Regions from separate parts of the Homo sapiens genome. Here region 1 is linked to region 2. The links are contacts of gene promoters, found by promoter capture Hi-C in blood cells and fetal thymus (Javierre and others, 2016). All regions are on one chromosome and are shown on one strand. The core of a region is centred on a gene start or on the middle of the fragment in contact, and the rest is flanking DNA. Distances in the headings are between cores, read along the strand shown.

Region 1 (7,072 bases), core at 1,740-4,239, 1.1 Mb after region 2:
AATATAAAGCCATCATGTTTTTAAAACAACAAATAGCTCTCAGATGAAAATCTATATTGTGTATAAAACTCAACACAATATAAATTGCTAAGATATACAAAAGTTATATTAGGCCATGATAAATCAATGTTAATATATCTCAAATTTTCAGAAATGATAATAGGAGATAAGAAGAGCAAAGTATGGATTTTAATTGCCATCAACAGGGCACTCAACACATAGAACAGATTTTTCTATTTGTATTAAATTTCAATCTAACAGAAATCTATACTATTAGCACCTCATTAAAGTCAAACTCAAAAACATACCTAGAATGCCTAAGTCTTCATTTCTTAGAAAACTACTGCAGTCATTTTCAAAGACTATTATTTATATTATACCTTCAAGATATTCTATTCCATTTTAGGCTTTGTAGAAATATTTGGAAGTACAATCAAAGATATGAGCTTCTCTCATGGTGTTTTAACAGCTTAGTCCCACTTCACTAGTGCATGCTTAATGATTCAGAGACATAGCTACTCCCCTTTCGAACTAGTATAGACATATTTCTTACAGTGTTCTCTAAAATACTGAGTTAATGCTAAGCATTAGATATAAACTCATTTATTCAGTAAAGACTGCTATAATGCACAACATTCTTTACATTTAGAAAAAGCATATTACTCTGGCTAACCGAATATGTTTTATGTAATAGTTACCATGTTATATTTCATATTAAATATTCTATTTTTGAAAATTGACTCCCATTACACAAATAATGTACATACACTGATGTAAATTGCATATTCCTATCTGAAAATCACCTTAGAGAAACATTTGGATGAGTTTTAAAGATGCACTAGACTCAAAAGTAATTCCATTTTTTAGGAAGAAGACATTAAATAGGTAAAATTTTAAAAGAACAAAATATATTTAAAACGTACTATGAATAAAGGCAAAACTAGGATGACAAACTACTAAACTGAATTACATCATGCTATGTTTAATTACAATAGGAAACTGCAAGAAAAAATAACATTTTTTACTACTAGAGAAATGAGTATTCTATGTTTAGCCTCAGGAAGCCTTTAAGTGCCACTAAGAACTGACTGTAAAAGGCAAAAGTAAGTTGTTTTTAAAAAACCCAATGAAACAATCCGAGAGTCTATACTCTTTAACCAAATACAAATATAGCATTAAGAAAAATAGAAGATTTAGTAATGAAGCAGTTTAACAAAATTTTACTTCATCTTTGAAGTCTTATTTTTCGAAGAACTATATTCACTTGTGTCAAAAAAAAAAAAAAAAAAAAAAAAAACAGCGTAGCCCCACTAGAATTAGTTTCTTAGCCTCAATTTTTCTAATAGTGAGATGGTCTTCTGTAAGGCACTTCCAGAAGAACATATCAAACCTACACCCAACTTGCATGATTAGTGATAAACAATCCCACATTTGACTGGCAACTGAGAAAATCTGTACACTGGGCACTTTGTCAGGAAGACTAATCTTGAATGTTCAACATATCAATATTTATCCAATGTTTAGATAAGAGAAAGACATTTTTGAAACTATCCTGAAAGTCATTCCTGTGTGTGTATTCCAGCTATTCCTATAGCCTCAAATTTATCTATCCTTGGATTATAATCAGACTCATATAGAGCTCAATATATTCTTGGGGGTTCCAGATAATTGTTCTAACAACTTTTTGCCATTAAGTCCCAATTGTAAATTAAGCCACAAACATTTAGGGATAGTGTGTGTGTGTGTGTGTGTGTTTCTTTTTCTTTCTTTTTTTTTTGAGACAGAGACTTGCTCTGGGCTCAAGCAATCCTGCCACCTCAGCCTCCCAAGTAGCTGGAACCACAGGCATGCACCACCATACCCGGCTAATTTTTGTTTGTTTTAGAAACAGGGCCTCCTTATTTTGCCCAGACTGGTCTCAAATTCCTGGCCTCAAGTGATCCTCCCACCTTGGCCTCCCAAAGTGCTGGAATTACAGGCATGAGCCACTGCACCCAGCCTCAAATAAAATGTTAAATACCCTGTTGTTTGAAAACGAATACCCACATGCTTTATTAAACCCACCTTTTCACTTAAGATTCACCACAATGCACAGTTTCCTTTCTTTGATAATGCATAGTTTCTTAATATATTTTAATCTTTTGGAGTCTGGACTCCATATATCCCCTGTTCCATCAGCTAGCAAAAATGCTATCTGTGCTTTACCTTTGATAAGTAAAAATTTCACAGGATGCACTGGTAAGCTTTAATCTCTTTGCTAGTATTATCTTATTTACTTTCTCTTTCTGATTTCCTTGATTAAGGATTTCTTATTTTGTTGTAATGTATTTACTTAGCCAAGATACTTAAAAAGTTATAGAACAAAAGTGAAATAAAAACAAGGCTTTGGAAAAATGTTGAAAATATTCATGCTAAAGCATCTTTTATTCTAAGATAGCAACCAAAAAGTCATAAAAGGAAGATTAACCAATAAATTTAAAAATTAACACTTAATAGACATTATAAAAAATCTTAATGAAAGTCAACAGTTAACTTACCCTACAAAAGTATAGAAAATATTTGCTCTGCAAATGCAAACATGAAGTAATTTCCTTCAAAGTAAAAAAGACTTATTTCGATATGCTTAATTATAATACCAATGATCATATCTTATATCTAGATCTATAATTCATATAAGAGAATTATTTTTCAGTAAAATCTCAAAATTTAGTAAAATTTTCACTTTACAATTTAACAAAGTTCTTTTCTTTGGGGGGAGGTGTGCGGCGGGGGAAGTGGTCTCACTCTGTCACCCAGGCTGGAGTGCAGCAGGGTGCAGTCTCAGCTCACTGCTACCTCTGCCTCCCAGGCTCAAACAATCCTCCCACCTCAGCCTCCCGAGTAGCTGGGACCACAGGTATGTGCCAACAAGCCCAACTAATTTTTCTATTTTTGGTAGAGGGGGGTTTCGTCATGTTGCCCAGGCTACTCTCAAACTCCTGTGCTCAAGCAATCTGCCTATCTTGGCCTCCCAAAGTGCTAGGATTACAGGCATGAGCCACCACGCCCAGCCAAAATTCGTTTTTTAATATTATTATTACCTTTTATATTGTTGTTATTAATATAATTATATTAATGAAAATGATTTTAAAACAAAGATCAGTAAACTTTAAAGGAAACTGCTATATGTTAGCTGACACAGGTCAAAGGAGTAATCTCTGAAAACGAAATTGTTGTATAAGTATATATGTAAAATATCTTGTAAAATAAAGTATTTTAGTTTCTTTCTTTAAAGTATTGTAAAGTATATATGAAATACCCTGTAAAAGGTGAAGCCTTACACAAACAGTATTATTTCATGCAAAAAGTACAAAAGTGCATACTTACCCTTCTCCTCCCATTCTTGTTATTTTTAGACGAAAATCCACAGAATTCAGACTGGGAGGCTTCCATTTCAAAATATCATCACATCGACCAGGTTTGTATTTCTAAAGCCAATTAAAATGATGACAATCGTTACTAAGAAGTTAAAAATTAAACATTCAATGTATTAAACCTAATGTAACTTTTTATTAAGCAAAATTACTTCTTTTCTAAACATAATTTTAATCTTCAACCAACAAGTCAGGCTAGATATCTACCTTCTTATTGATGACCTTTCTTCTTTTCCTACCAAAGACATGTAGACCCTTGTTTGTGAAAGTCCAGAAAAAGAATAAAACCAGTGATTCTATCCAACCTTCCTATGACTTAAAAGAAGCTTCATTTTTAAAAATGCTTTTTTTTCTTGTTCAGCTTTATGGAGGGATAATTTATAATGAATAAAATTAACCAACAAATCTTGACAAATATATACAGTTACGTAACCATGACCAAAATCATGATATTGAACATTTCAAGGATGTGAAAAAATTTCTTGCTACCATTTGCAGTCAATTCCCTCCGTCAGCATTCTGGCAACAGTGATCTGCTTTCTACGACTACAGTTGTACCTTTTCTAGCTACATAAGAAATACTTTAAAAATAAAAAATAAAGAAACACTTTATGTAAGATTTTTGAGATGAATCTATCCTGGTGCATATACTAGTAGTATGTTCCTTTTCATTGCTGACTAGGATTCCATTGTATGTATATACCACAAATTGTTTACACATTTACAAGGTGATGGATATCTGGGTTGTTTCCAGTTTTTGGCTATCATGAATGATGCTGCTCTGAACATTTGTATTGACATGTTTTCCTAACTCTTGGGTAAATAACTAGGAGAGTGGAATGACTGTATCACATGGCAAATGCATGTTTAGCTTTGTAAGAACTGTCAAACTGTAACATTTTCTATTCCTACCAGAAATGAATGAGAAGTCCATTTGCTCCATATCCGCCTTGGACTAGGCATTGTCAGTCTTCTTAATTTAGCCTTTCTAAAGTGTGTGTCTCATCATTTTAATTGGCATTTCTCTAATGACACAAAGATGGTGAAGATCTTTTCTTTTGTTTATTGCTATCTGTATACCTTCTTTGGTGAAGTGTCTGTTCAAATCTTTTACTCTTGTTTGCACTGAGCTGTTTGACTCATTACTGCCTTGTAAGAAGTTACTTACATATTGTAAATAAATAGTCTTGGTTGGATATATGTATTACAAATATTTTCTACAAGTCTTTGGCTTTTTCATTTTCTAAATAATTTCTTTTGAAGACCAAAGTTCTTTATTTTAGTAATGTCAAAATTATCCATTTAAAAATTATATAATTTGTGCTTTTTGTGACCTATTTAAGGAATATTTTCCTAAAGTCATTACAATTTTCTACTATGTTTTCTTAGACAAGTTTTATGGTTTCAGCTGTTATTTTTAGGTATACAAACTACTTCAGCTTATTAATTTCTATGGTATGAAGCACAGGACTGTATGTATGTATGTGTGTGTGTGTATATATATATATATATATATATATATATATATATACACACACACACACACACACAATTTCTTTTCTCACTAATCTGTTGCATTAACATATATGTCTTTCTTCCTGCTAATAGAATAGTCTCAATTACTATAACTTTATACATTTTGAAAACAGGCTGTGTAAGTCCTCAGACTTTTATTCTCCTTTTTCAAAACACTTTTAGCTAATGTAGCATTTACATTTCCACATACATTTTAAAATCAGCTTGCCAATTTCTATGAAAAATAAGCCTGCTGAGATTTTAATGAGGATTACACTGAATCAATCAATAGGTTAGGGAAGAAATGACATCTTAACCAAATTGAATTTTCTGATTCATAAACACTGTAAATCTCTCCATTTACTCATCCTTAAATGAATCTTAACAATGTTCTGTAGTATTCAGTATAGAGATCTTGCATGGCTTTTGTTAAATGTATTCCTAATAATTTACTATTTTTGGTGAAATTATCAACGCAAAAATTCAGTTTTGCTTCTATACACCAGCAATAAAAATCAAAAGAAAAAAAAGGAAAGGACATTTTTAAAAACTTACAGTAGGGTTAGGCACGGTGGCTCACGCCTGTAATTCCAGCACTTTGGGAGGTAGAGGTGTGAGGACAGCTTGAGCCCAGGAGTTCGAGATCAGCCTGGGCAAGAAAGCAAGACCTTATCTCTACAAAAAAATTTAATAATTAGCCAAATATAGTGGCACATGCCTGTAGTCCCGGCTCCTTAGGAGACTGAGGTGGGAGGATTGCTTGAGCCTGGGAGGTCAAGGCTATAGTGAGCCATGATCATACCACTGCACTCCAGCCTGAGCAACAGAGTGAAACTCTGTCTCAAAAAAAAAAAATGTGCAATAGCATCTAGAGGAACAAAATATGTAGGAATTAATTTAACCAAGGTGAATCATCTGTATACTGAACACTGATTTCTTTAAAAAAAAAAAAAGATGGAAAGACATCATATGTTCATGGATAGGAAGACTCAATGTGTTAAGATGTCAATACTCCCAGAACAATCTACAGATTCAGTGCAATCTCTAAGAAAATTCCAACAGCGTTTTCCACAGAAATGAAAATGTGCTCTTCAAATTCAAGTAAAATTTCAACAGACCTAAAGAGTCAAACAAATGGGATCTAATTAAACTAAAGAGCTTCTGCACAGCAAAAGAAACTACCATCAGAGTGAACAGGCAACCTACAAAATGGGAGAAAATTTTCGCAACCTATTCATCTGACAAAGGGCTAATATCCAGAATCTACAATGAACTCAAACAAATTTACAAGAAAAAAAAAGACCCCATCAAAAAGTGGCCGAAGGACATGAACAGACACTTCTCAAAAGAAGATATTTATGCAGCCAAAAAACACATGAAAAAATGCTCACCATCACTGGCCATCAGAGAAATGCAAATCAAAACCACAATGAGATATCATCTCACACCAGTTAGAATGGCAATCATTAAAAAGTCAGGAAACAACAGGTGCTGGAGAGGATGTGGAAAAATAGGAACACTTTTACACTGTTGGTGGGACTGTAAACTAGTTCAACCATTGTGGAAGTCAGTGTGGTGATTCTTCAGGGATCTAGAACTAGAAATACCATTTGACCCAGCCATCCCATTACTGGGTATATACCCAAAGGACTATAAATCATGCTGCTATAAAGACACATGCACACGTATGTTTATTGCGGCATTATTCACAATAGCAAAGACTTGGAACCAACCCAAATGTCCAACAATGATAGACTGGATTAAGAAAATGTGGCACATATACACCATGGAATACTATGCAGCCATAAAAAATGATGAGTTCATGCCCTTTGTAGGGACATGGATGAAATTGGAAATCATCATTCTCAGTAAACTATCGCAAGAACAAAAAAACAAACACCGCATATTCTCACTCATAGGTGGGAATTGAACAATGAGAACACATGGACACAGGAAGGGGAACATCACACTCTGGGGACTGTTGTGGGGTGGGGGGAGGGGGGAGGGATAGCATCGGGAGATATACCTAATGCTAGATGACGAGTTAGTGGGTGCAGCGCACCAGCATGGCACATGTATACATATGTAACTAACCTGCACATTGTGCACATGTACCCTAAAACTTAAAGTATAATAATAATAAA
Region 2 (6,870 bases), core at 1,980-4,479:
ATTATATTTGAACTCACAGATGTGAAAGGAAAACAAAGAGTTCCCACAAGTTTGCCAATCTCAATTTGGTAAGCCACTGTCTACTTCCAAACCTAACTACTCATTTTAGTTAATGACAGATGGGTATTTACTCCCATAAAGTTTAAGAATAATCGGTGTTAAAATAGGAAGCTAAAAATCAGGTGCATGAGAAAATTATTTCCAAGTTTACTAACATGAAAACTGGGAAGCTCTTTGATACCTGCACAACACTGCAGCTCCCATTATGACATTACAAAAAACATACAGGACCATACCCCAAATTGGCCATATAAACACAAAGTCAAACTAAATTACATTTAGAATGTCATTCAAAACTACCGTTTAAAAAATGTAATTTTAGCAAGTCAAAATTTCAATTTCAACTTGTTTTCTCAAGTAAACTTTTTGCGATAATATTCAAATTAGTTTGGAAATAACTTTTAGCAGACTCAGAATCAATAAGGATGTGATTTTAGGTTTCAGGATATAATCAAACTTCCAAAGTAGATGTCAAAAAAAAAACACCTTGAAGAAAATAGCAGTATTTTGGAAAGTGAATGTGAATCTCAATCAGCTGGCTTAAACAATTCCAATAATTCCAGTCGTTTTACTACAACAGTCCAATTAATTTAAACTTGAGATAATGTGGAGCCAACTGTATTAACCAACGCTACAGATATGCCAATGAAAAGTCGTTTACAAAGGATCACAATTCTGAATAAGTGTGCTTTAAAGGGGAGGAACATGGTATAGTCCCCAATTGTTCACATACATGCCCAAGATTATTTTGACATTGAGATATAGTACTTTAATTCCCAAACCTAGCACTGTATTAATTCACTCCCTCGACTGAAATGTATTGCTGGTTAGCTCCTTAATGACCTTATTTTGAAATGGCTTTATTAGTTAAGTACAGAATCCATTTCAATTTCCAATGATACCATTTCACTAAAAGACAAATTCCAAAAATGTCAACCACCAGTAGCTCATTCTTGACATTGGCTGTTTCCTTTTTTTTTTCCCAAAGTAAAGCCTAACAATTAATCAACAAATGCCTTTTCAATCTAATTAAAACACAGTTTAGTAAGGTCATTAAATAAATTTATCTAAGAATTTCCGTAAAAACTCACTACAACTCTAAAACAGTATGTCCTTAAATTAGACCAAATATTTAATAGCAAAAATGGTAGCTTGCATATTCGAGGGTCACTCCATGGATTTAGAAAATATTTTTAAATGTGACAAAAAAAAAAAAACACTAAAGTCAGTTTCAAATGGAAGTCACCAAATACAGAGGTATATACTTCGGTTTTTTAAGCTACTGATAACGAGACATTTAAATCAAGCTATGGAAAGGCTTTGTCTAAAGGGTGATATTATTACTAAAGGCTCACACAGAAATCTTTGCATGCTACACACAAAGGAAACATTTACACTTCTAGTCCACAAAAGCCTATCCTAGGATTGTGCCAGGGGCACACAAGGATTTCAAAGTACAGAAAAAACTGGGCATACACATGCCCTACAAAGCAGCCAAAAGACATTCCCCAGTCTCTCTCAGGAAATGTTTCAAGATGAAAAGCAAAAGTCTGAAGTCCCTTGGAATCTTGGGTTGATTTCTTCATTATTCTCAAGGCTAGGTTGTTTTCCCCCAGCATACTTTGTTGGGCAAAAATAAAACATTTCCAAATAAAAGCAACTCCTCAGCCCCAATTTTCAATGCAATATGCTTATTAAAAGTTCAACATTTCTCAAGGTCTAGACTTATAGTGTGATCATATTACAGTACTCGGGAAGAGCATTTTCTTTGTTGTTGACCCTGCTAGGGAAACAGGTCTTGACTCAGCCAAAGTGGCGTTCTTGTGGGTGATTAATGACAGGCCTAGATCTCGCCCTAGTGACATCCATCCCCCACCCCCCACCCCCACTATACTAAAATCAGCCGTGTCTGAACTGAAGGAGGGGCTGTAGCCTCGCCTCAAACCACCCAGTCCCAGAGTTAATAGCTGCAACCAATCGATTACGGCAAGCACACATCCAGATTGGGGTGAAATGTGACCCTTTCGCCTAAATTTACGAATAATATCGTCCTCTCTGATCATTTCCGCTGGGGCTCCAGCGACTACGGAAACAATTCCAATCATTCGGCCCAAAGAAAAAGATGTCCCTGTTCTACCCAATACGGGCAAGGCAAAGCCCCTACCCACCTCCAAACACTATCCCCTTGACATCAGCCCATTTCTATTGTGTCTTATTAGGTCCTCGGGCTACGAGGACCTAGTGAAAAACGTGGCTGCCCTACTACTTTGCTAAGAACAAGAACCACACAGTCCGGCACCCCCACCCCAGGGGCCGCATCCCACACCCCAGGACCCCTGTTCCCAGTTCTCTCCACTACCCCGGCGGCCGCGGGGCCGGGTCCCACCTGTGGTGAGGCGGGAGGAGACGTCGCCGAAGGGGGATGGCTCCATTCGGAGATACTTCTGCGGCGAGGCGGCCGCAGCGGAGAAGGAGGCGGCGGTGGCCGCGGCCGCCGACAACGGGGAGGCAGCGGCCGAGGTGGGCGCCGACAATGGCGCACATCGCCTGCGCTTCGGGGACGCCGGGCTCAACAGCGGGTCGAAATCCAGAGTCCTTTTCAGAGTGGCTCCGCACGCCATGGCCGGGGGCAGCTGAGGCGCCGGGCTCGGGTGGGGTCGGGGACGGGTGACGAAAGAAGAGGGTGAGGGAAGGGGTGAAGAGCGGGAACTCGAGGAGAGCCTACCCGACGGGCTCAGGAGCCAAGCGGGTCGCGGAGCGCCGGCTGTGGAAAGGAGAGCCGCTGCCGCCGCTGCCTCCGCGGCAGGGGCAGTGGCCAGGGACGGCCCGGGTGAGAGCGGGAGGGGCGGTGGCGGGCAGAAGCACACGCCAGTCGCGTCAGGGGGGTTCTTCCGCCTCCTCAGGCGCGGCTCCCCCGAGAGAGGCTCCGGCCGCCCCCGCCGTCCGCTCGAGCTTTGCGCCGCGCCTGAGGCGCTTCTGTGCTGAGACTAGATCCTTTCTGAAGTCGAAAACAGCACCGTGGGGTGTGAGGCTGGAACGCGGCTCCTAATACGCCCGAGTACGGTCAGTAGCTTGCGAGCGGCGATCGATGCAGAGAGATTGCGAGGTAGCTGCCGCAGCAGGAACCCAAGCGAACACGTCCAACCGCTTCCCCTCCCTCGTAGAACTCTCCCACCCGCCGCCGGCCCCAATATGGCGTCAATAACAACGCCGCCGATTCAAATCCGGCGGCCTCAGAGCGCTTGCGCACGGGGGCGGGCCAAACCGGGGATGCATTTTGGGAGTTGTAGTTTTTAGGTACCGGGAGGAATCGGCTTGAAAGGCGGGAAGGGAGGAGTCACAGAAACTACGACTTCCGTCATGCAAGGCGCGCGATTCCGAGTTCCGGGTTGGAATTTAAATCCCCCTACACAGCTTGAGTGTAAGAGGAACTAAGCAAAAGAGAAAAAAAGAGAAGGTTCTGAGACAGTGGGAGATGGGAAAGCGAACCCGTGGCAAAAGCAGGCTAAGCGACATAGAAATCTTTTAAGATTCTCCGTATAGTTGCTCCCACAGTGATTTCAGATCTGGGAAATATAATAAACCAATCTCTAGTCAAAGTTAGCTTAATTTCGGTAGCGACAGTACCCAAAACAAGACCTTTCACATGGAGAGGATAGGAGATAATGAGATTATGAAACCTATTTAGGACTGGCAGACAGAACAACAGTAATAGTATCAGGTTACAGGATCCTTGATTCAACTCGATGCTCTACCCTTCGGAGGTAGCTGCTTCATCCACTAATGAAATTCTGTAAAGCCAGCTTTGCTTCTGTAAATGAATAGGACTTGAACGACTTACAGAATCAAATTGTTTTGCGTTGGGTAAAAAGCAAGTGGTATCAGACATTGCATTACTTCTGTTGAATATTGGTGCATATATTGTGAACTTTGTTACAAAACTAATCAAAAGACAGTGAAATGTTTAGGTAATAGATATTGGATGGATCCATTTTGTAAGCGGAAGGGGAAAAAAGTGTTTCTAGAAGTTGTACTTTTAGTCACATACCTAAAATAAGAATCAAATACAGCGCTAATTTAGAAAGTGATCTGTGTAGCCGGGCATGGTGACTCACGCCTGTTATCCCAGCACTTTGGGAGGCCGAGGCAGGCGGATCTTCCTGAGGTCAGGAGTTCGAGACCAGCCTGGTCAAAATGGTGAAACCCCGTCTCTACTAAAAATACAAAATTAGCCGAGCGTGGTGGCGCGCGCCTGTAGTCGCAGCTACTCGGGAGGCTAAGACAGGAGAATCATTTGAACCCGGGAGGCGAAGGTTGCAGTGAGCCGAGATGTTGCCACTGCACTCCAGCCTGGGTGATAGAGCGAGTCTCTGTCTGAAAAAAATGAAAAGAAAAGAAAATGATGCCGGGCGCGGTGGCTAACGCCTGTAATCCCAGCACTGGGAGGCCGAGGCAGGCGGATCACGAGGTCAGGAGTTCGAGACCAGCCTGTTCAACATGGTGATACCCTGTCTCTACTAAAAATAAAAAAAATTAGCCGGGCGTGGTGGCGCACACCTATAGTCCCAGCTACTCAGGAGGCTGAGGCAGAAGAATCGCTTGAACCCGGGAGGCGGAGGTTGCAGTGAGCCAAGATCAAGCTACTGCACTCCAGCCTGGGTGACAGAGCTAGACTTCGTCTCAAAAAAAAAAAAAAAAAAAAAAAGTGATATATGTAGAAACTATCACCAGTGCAATATGAAACAATTTTGTGAATGCCAACTGTCAAATGATTATAAATACTGATTTCCAGTGCTCATGTATTCTTCTTTATTCAGTAACAGATGTTTTATAGCCATTTTGTCTATTATTTTTAAACCATATTTAGAAGTAGTTCAATATATTCTTTTTTATAGACAATTTTATAGAATTGTCCAGTGCTTCAGAGATCAGCAGTCCTGATCACACTGTGTCAACAAGTAAGCCCTTCTAGTTTTAATTTAGGATATTTGGAAATATCCTACATTTCCTACATTTGGAAAATCTTTTGAAAAAGATAAGCATTTAATGAAACAGCAGCTTAACTAAGACACCTACTAGGTAAATTTCTAGTAAATTCTAAACACTTGGTAATATTTTCTGAAATTAAGATTTGCCCATAAGTTATAAAACCTACATTTGAAATGTGATGTTGTGAGTTAAATTCCCTATGTTTGAGGGAATTCAAGGACTTCAAAATTCATATGAAGTCCTAACCTCCAGTACCTTAGAATATGACTTTACTTAGGAATAGGATTATTTCAAATGTAATTAGCTAAATGTAGTAGGATGGGCCCCTAATCCAATATGACTGGTATTCTTATACAAAAAAGGAAATTTGGGCCAGGTGCGGTGGCTCACACCTGTAATCCCAGCACTTTGGAAGGCCGAGGTGGGAGGATCACTTGAGGCCAGGAGTTTGAGGCTAGCCTGGGCAATGATAAGAAACCTCATCTCTACAAAAATTTTTAAAAAATTAACTAGGCATGGTGGTGGTCACCTGTGGTCCCAGCTACTCGGGGCAGCTGAGGTGAGAGGATTGCATGAGCCCAGAAGGTTGAGGCTGCAGTAAGCTGTAATCACACCACCACACTCCGGCCAGGGTGTCATAGCCAGACCCTGTCTCAAAAAAAAAAAAAAAAAAAAGAAAAGAAAAAAAGGCCAGGGTGAAGGGGAGACTGGGTGGGGGTGGGAATTTGAACCCAGGCATGGGCCCAAGGGAATTTTGACCCACATGAACATGAACATGAAAATAGAGATTAGGGTGATGCTTCTACAAGCCAAGGAATGCCAAAGATTGCCAGCAAAACACCAGAAGCTAGGAGAGAAGTTGTTCTCCCTCAGTCCTCAGAAGGAACCAACCCTGAAAACACCTTCTCAGAGTTGTATTCTCTAGACCATGAGACAATAAATTTCTGTAGGTTAAGCCATCCAGTTTGTGGTACTTTGTTATGGCAACTGTAAGAAACTAATACAGAGAGGATTGTGGTTATCAGGCTATCATTTGAAATATACCAGAATGCCTAGAAAATGAGGAAAGTATTTTTTTGTTTAATTGTGGAGACAGAGGTCTAAGTTGCCGAGGATGGTCTCAAACTCCTGGCCTCAAGTGATCCTCCCACTAGCATTACAGGCTAGCATTACAGACTAGCATTACAGGCCGAGCCACTGCACCCAGTCAGCAAAGTGTTGTTGTACTTAAAGGTGGTGGGGGATATCTGGTAAACTTGATAGTTTAGTCATAATAGTTGCCTGTGTGGTCACCGCTGCACAGTATATTTGCAAAAGGCTGTCAAGATTAAACAGTGACAGGGCTGGGGTGCCTCCCCTTCTACCAATGACTCAGGAAGCTACTTCAGAAACTAAAAAGACAAGGGAGACCCTTCCCTATTCACCTATGTCTTTGCTTAGGCTCTCTGCTCCACACTTCTTGCCTGACTACTTATATTTTAAGACTCAAGCCAGGCATTAACTCCTCCAGGAAGCCCTCCGCAGTGTTTCAAAGCCAAGTTAGTTTTATAGCCTCACAGAGAAAGAGACACCTATCTGCATATTTTCATCATTATCCTCACCACACTGCAATAAAATTCTGTTCATGAATCTGCCTCTCCTGTCATTGTGTTAGCTCCTTACCAATAGTATAATACCTTGCACGCTTCAGTAAATGTCCACTGAATATTTCTTAAACATTTTTTATCACACTATCCCCAGTAGCCCACATTATCCTTGTTCCTTTATAGATCTGCTAAAATACTATAGCAACCCTTTTAGAGTAGAAGGAAGCTGTTGAAA

The links. Contacts are between HindIII fragments. The CHiCAGO score rates a contact against its expected background, and 5 or more counts as called.
Region 1: a fragment that was not itself captured here is called in contact with the fragment with the promoter of AKIRIN2 in region 2 in 1 of 17 cell types (total B cells); the score reaches 8.0 in total B cells.

What each region holds. Positions count from the first base shown.
Region 1 is chr6:88,766,408-88,773,479 of GRCh38, forward strand. It overlaps RNGTT (RNA guanylyltransferase and 5'-phosphatase), which reads right to left. Exons shown (of 16, transcript NM_003800.5): 13 at 3,367-3,467. Among named protein-coding and RNA genes, the nearest start is that of RNGTT, 190 kb to the right of the region's middle. The HindIII fragment of the contact is 1,496 bases long and covers 2,242-3,737 here.
Region 2 is chr6:87,699,004-87,705,873 of GRCh38, forward strand. It overlaps AKIRIN2 (akirin 2), which reads right to left and starts at 3,230. Exons shown (of 5, transcript NM_018064.4): 1 at 2,447-3,230. The coding sequence starts at 2,681. RefSeq lists enhancers at 1-5, 3,122-3,181, 3,492-3,801, 6,627-6,746 and silencers at 2,402-2,611, 2,792-2,961. The HindIII fragment of the contact is 11,354 bases long and covers 1-6,870 here.